2 separate regions of the Homo sapiens genome follow, and region 1 is linked to region 2. Evidence: promoter capture Hi-C in 16 types of primary human blood cells and fetal thymus (Javierre and others, 2016). All regions are on one chromosome and are shown on one strand. Each heading gives the region's core, a stretch centred on a gene start or on the middle of the fragment in contact. The rest is flanking DNA. Distances are from core to core; before and after follow the strand shown.

The links. Contacts are between HindIII fragments. The CHiCAGO score rates a contact against its expected background, and 5 or more counts as called.
Region 1: the fragment with the promoter of LCORL here is called in contact with the fragment with the promoter of SEPSECS in region 2 in 1 of 17 cell types (non-activated CD4 T cells); the score reaches 6.3 in non-activated CD4 T cells.

Annotation. Positions count from the first base shown.
Region 1 is chr4:18,020,381-18,023,105 of GRCh38, forward strand. It overlaps LCORL (ligand dependent nuclear receptor corepressor like), which reads right to left and starts at 1,375. Exons shown (of 8, transcript NM_001394446.1): 1 at 1,218-1,375. The coding sequence starts at 1,371. RefSeq lists silencers at 587-916, 1,237-1,696 and an enhancer at 1,747-2,006. The HindIII fragment of the contact is 12,000 bases long and covers 1-2,725 here.
Region 2 is chr4:25,158,820-25,161,732 of GRCh38, forward strand. It overlaps SEPSECS (Sep (O-phosphoserine) tRNA:Sec (selenocysteine) tRNA synthase), which reads right to left and starts at 1,630. Exons shown (of 11, transcript NM_016955.4): 1 at 1,437-1,630; 2 at 134-288. The coding sequence starts at 1,550. It overlaps SEPSECS-DT (SEPSECS divergent transcript), which reads left to right and starts at 1,853. Exons shown (of 2, transcript NR_037934.1): 1 at 1,853-1,934. RefSeq lists a silencer at 1,314-1,483 and an enhancer at 1,594-1,893. The HindIII fragment of the contact is 2,962 bases long and covers 1-2,571 here.

The sequences.
Region 1 (2,725 bases), core at 125-2,624, 7.1 Mb before region 2:
GCTGCTGCCACTATCCACTGCTTACACAATACAACCTTCCTTTCTACCTCTTCCCCTACACTCCCACCCATAACCCCCTTCCAAAACAAACACCCACAACGCGCCCCATTCCATAATCCGTGTTCGCCCCTCTAAGCCCACTAAACCAACCTGCTGGATAACAGCTCTATGCATTCGTCTTAGGCAAAAAAAGAAAAAAAAAAAAGCGACTGCAGCAAGGTCGGGAGTCCCACCATTCCTGTCACCCTAAACAATCCACAGGGTGAGAGCCCCAAGCCCAGAAGTTTGAGGCAAAACGATTCAGATCCAACCAAAAAGAGGGAATTGCAGTTGAATGGGGATGGGAGGTGGGGAGGGCGATGCGTATGCGTGTATATGTGTGTGTGTGTGTAAGGAAGAGTCCATCACATGACAGTGAAAGAGGACCAGAGTCGTCGGGGCGTCCGCAAGCAGACGGGGGGGAGGGTGTCGTTGCCGTGGCAACACCCCCCATCCGTCCAGACTTCCAAAGAGGGAGGAAGAACTTCAAATCCCAACCGTCAGCGCTCAAGCGGCTCCTTCTTAAAGGGGTACACACAGCGCCGCCGCCGAGCGCGAGAGGGCAGAGTTGGGCGCCCCCCGCCCCTCGGACGACGCCCCCGCCGCCCCTCGCCCCCAGCCGGCCCATCAGCGGCCCCCGCCCTGCGAGTGCCCGTGGGTCTCCAGGTCCAGGTCCCCGGGAACTGGCCGCGTCTGCTCACCCGGCCCCCGGCGGCGACAAGGGGGTGTGTGTGCGCTCGGCGGGGGCGCGGACCAGCCCGCCTTCCTCCGGCCGCCCTGCCCGCCGGCTCTCCTCCGCCAGGGCGCCGACCCACCGGGCCGCTTCCTCCGTCCTGTCAGGGTGGACGGCGGGCGACGGCGGGCAGCGACGGGCGCCGAGGAGTTTCGGGGAGAGAGCGAGCGGGCGGCTTCCGCGGGGGCTCAGCAAGCGGGTCCAAACTAACAGTTCCCGGGGAGCCCAAGAGCTGGGAAGGCGAAGGAGCGCGGACCGCGCCGGGCCAGCAGCCCGCAAGACAAAAGGCGAGCGCCGGGGCCGCCGCGCCGCGCCGCTCCCATCTCGCTCCCCCACCGAACTAACCCGAACGGGAGATTCAACTAAACCCCTCAGCCACAAACTCCTCGGGCTGCGACAGCGGTCGCCGCGCGGAGCCCGGGGCCCCGGCCCGCGTCTCTCTTACCTACACAGTGCATGAGGCGGTGGCGCCAAGAGTCGAGTTCCCGCCGGAATCCTCTTCTCTCCGCCGCGCACCGAGGGCTCCGGCACTGAGCGGCGGCGGCGGCGGCGGCAGCAGCGGCGGCGGCAGCGGCCATTCTCTCTCTTCCCTTGTCCATCTGCGTCCCGCGTCACGCGCCCTCATTTACATACGAGCAGCGCAGGCACGAGGCAGGGGCGCGAGCCCTCGGCGCGAGCCCCGGAGCGCGCGCCCCCCGGAGGGGGGTTGATTGACACGTGTCACTACCTTCCCTCTGCCCTGCCCTCCCCCTCCCACCGCTCCCTCAGGGAGAGGCGGGGAGGGAGCCAGAGGAGAAGGAAGCAACCTGCCGCTTCCGCTGACCCCGCCTCCCCACCCACTACCCTCCTCCCCCTCCCGCTGGAGTTTACTCAGGCGAGCCATACCGCTCCCGCCGCCCGCGAAAACCCTGAGCGGGAGCGAGAGACCCGGAGCCCAGCCAGGAACCGGCGTGCTAGTGGAGCGGACTAGCAACGCCTACTTTCTGCCTTCACTACGGGACTCCGACAGTCCGGAGACTTCACTTCCCAGGCTCCATTTCGCCAGGATCCCGAAGCTGAACTTGGCGCCGTGGCGCGTTGCTTGCCGGTCATTGTAGTCCAGAAGAAAGGATTTTTTTTGTTTGTTTGTTTTTCTTCCCCCCCGCACTTGGGTATGCAGGCTGGCCTGCAACTTCTCTGCGCCGCGCCGCTGGGGGGCTGAGTCTGTCGCTCCCTGCGCCCGGAACCATGCGCTGCCCGGTGGCCGGGTCTGACCCGACTGCTTTAGCTTCCTTAGGCTCCGCGATAGAAGGGTGGTGGAAGCCGCAAGAGTTGTCGGCTCCTTGTGGGTTCAGGCTGCGCTTTGCGTTTTAAGTGCTGGAAACTTTCCGGGGTCGCTGTCTTCCTGTCACTCCGCAGGGAAAGGGCAAGCCGGTCATTCGGCTACATCTGGAATAACTGCCAAACGTCCAGAGAGAGATCCCGGAGTGACTTCGGTATTCAAGGCGAAGAGATCTCGGAAAGCCAGAATATTTGCAAGGACTAGGAAAAAGATGCGGGTTTTTTTCACTGAAAATTACTTGCAGGGGACTGGGTGTAGCCGGCTGAAAACTGCAGAAGGAAAATTTTCTTTATAAGCTCCTGGAGGGCAGCGACCCACTGAGATCTCTGTACCGTGACATCTGTCACTCGCTAGACCCTAGTACAGTGCGTGACACGGGATTAAGCACTTTACAAAGGTTAATGGAATGAATTCTACCACGTGCTAGAGAAAATAACTTCTTCAGAGAGAGCTAGAGAGGAATCTTACGTTTAAATACAGACTCCAATCACAGTTTTTACTTTTGCACCAGAGCGATTGTGCGTTTGTTTCCGTATAAGTGCAGTTTATCAAGCCGAAGCTAAGCTACCCAACGTTTGCTAAGAAGTACTGTGTATTTCTGGAAATTTATTCACAAGTCTGTGGGAAATATG
Region 2 (2,913 bases), core at 380-2,879:
ATATCCATTAGAGCAGGGAAGAAGTGGTTTACAAACTGACATTTGATAATCTAATAAGATAAATACTGCTGCCATTATTTTGAACCAAAAATAAATAAACGATGTATCTCCTGTACTACTTAAAAAAAGATACCTGTAATGACGACGAGCAACCAGTGCGGATGCCACTCTCCCTTCCCTTTCTCCCACACCACAATTGCCTAAGAAATTGTTGCTGTCCATGATTGCAAGTTCATGTAAAAAGAGTTCAAGTGTACTTTCATCCCAGCCATTCTCTGGACACTTGCCCTTAAAAAAAAAAAAAAACTTATGATTATATTTAATAAAACTACCGTTCTCTAGAATACTACAGGAATACAGTTTTTCTTTTTAACGTGTATTTTGCCACGCTGCTTGTTTTCTAAAATTCAAGCATAAATTCACCACTGTATAGAGACCGCAAAGAGGCAAAACGTTTGTACATTTGATTACAATTATTTACAGATTTCGAGAAGTGATGATAAATGCATACAATGAGGTTTACTGAGATATTTAAATTTCCGTAAGTGAAACTAACTGAAAACCAATACAACACATCCCCAGTGAAGATGCTTCAAACCAGGGCGTTACGACTGGGGCGGTGGGACGTGGAGAAGGGCGGTAGTTGTCAAACTTCAGTGAAATTTTGGCCACGCGCTGTAGCTCACTCACGCCTGTAATCCGAGCACTTTGGAAGGCCAAGAATGGCCGATCACTTGAAGTCAGGAGTTTGAGATCAGCCTGGCCAACATGGTGAAACCCCATCTCTACTAAAAATACAAACATTAACCGGGTGTGGTGGCGGGCGCCTGTAGTCCCAGCTACTCGGGAGGCTGAGGCAGGCGAATGGCGTGAACCCGGGAGGCGGAGGCTGCAGTGAGCCGAGATCGTCACACTGCATTCCAGCCTGGGCGAAAGAGCGAGACTCTGTTTCAAAAAAACAAAACACAACAAAACTTTTAATGAAATTAAAATACATGAACGCTGGCAGGAGGGAGACCTGTGAAGTTCCGCGGAAAGCTCGTGGTTCGAGTTAGCATACAGTCTACAAACACCATTATGTGTTCTGAGTCGTTGAGGGTTGGTGAAAGATGGAGGTGCGAACTTTGCCCTTTCCGCGAATAAAAAAGTACACTGGGACTTTCCCTCACTTCCGCATCCCGAAGTTAGAAACAGCGGGACTCAAAACCCCGACCCCAACACCCCCTCCTAACAACACCATTTGGCTTTCACTGGCTTTGGCAAGGCTGAGAAGGCACAGACCGCAGTCGGTCAGCTAGGGCAAGCCAAGCTGAGACAGACTTGGGACTAGTCTCAAGCAGCGAAGAGCTGCCGGTGAGGCAGCACCAGCGGGGACGCCCGGCGGAGCCAGAGCCCCGGGGTCGCGGCGGCTGGGGAGGGGACCGACAGCTCGGTACCTTCTCCAGAAGCAGCCGTATGAGGTGCTCATGCGAGCGGCGGGCCTCACAGCCCTGCCGCACGTAAGCCGGCGACACCAGCCGCTCTCCCGCCGCGAAGCTCTCGCGGTTCATGACAGCGGTGGCGACAGTGGCGAATAAGCGGGAGCACTAGCTCCACACGCCAGACACACGACGGAACCAGAATGCAACTCGCCGCCTGGACGGTACGGCAGCGCCTTGGGACAAAAAACAAAACAAAACAAAACAAAACAAAAAAAACACTTCTCGTTCGTGCACATGCGCAGACCTTCTCAGATGGCGCTCCAGGAGGAAGTTGGCGTATTTGAGCATGCGCGAGGGAGTCCGCGCTTTTCGCTGACTTTTGGCAAAGGAAGGACTGAAATTAGCCCCGCCCCGCTGCGGCTGATTCGTCTAGTTAAACCCTGGTGTTCCTGACACAAACTTCAGGAAAGGATTTTGCACTTGTGCAGACCGGGCGAGCAGAGTAAGAAGCAGGTACGTGGGTTTTTCCAAGTTCTGTGTTTCAGTCCTGTTGGATGGTTGAGATCTGTGCAGGGTCTGTGCTTCCGCCTTATTCAAACTGTCAGATGCCAGAACCTTCGATCTTTACTTTGATACATTTCCACACTTATTACTGCCTCACAACCCCATAGGAAATAGCAGTGCCCCACTCATTTTCCCCTTGACACTACTGTTTAGCCATAGCACTTACTACTCACCACGTGACATGCCAGACGTTTGTTTATACACACACACACACACACCCATACCCATGAATGTAAACTCTCTAACCTAACGGCAGGACCTCGGTTTTTGCTGCGGTGCCCCCTTCCCCCGGGCACCTAAAACAGTGCCCAGAATAAAGTAGGGCCTAAAAAAAAAGTTGATATTGAATTAATGAATTAGTTTGACCATTCTGAAACTATCCCCAAGAACATTTTGTAAAATTGATTAAGGAGGGGAAAAAAATCCAACTAGGCTTACAGCTGCTGTTATTAAGCCAGCTTGCAGTGTGGCCGACTTTCTTGTAGCTGGTTGCTACTTACTACCCCAGGAGAATGTGGCCCTTGTCACAAGACTCTTCATTCTTTTTCTGCTCTGAAGATAAAATCTAAGACATTATGAGAAGATAAGCTTTCTGTTTGCATTGCTTCTTTAGGTCCCGCATACCAACAAAACTAAGGACGCCAACTTGTCTGGAAGGCCCAATAAAAAGCTGATTCATGGAGGAATGCAATTGTCACATCCTAATGATTTCATCTCCCTTACCCCAACGAATCGATAACCCCAAATTTTCCAGCCCCTCACCCTCCACAAATCCCCTTAAAAAACTTTGCCTAGAACCCCTTGATGAAATGGATTGAAGCTTGAGAACTCTTCCTGTTTCCTGGCTTGTAACTTGTGATTATTAAAACTTTCTCTGCTGCAAGCCTGCTGTCGGAATACTGGTCTGTTTCTGCACAGCCGGCATAGG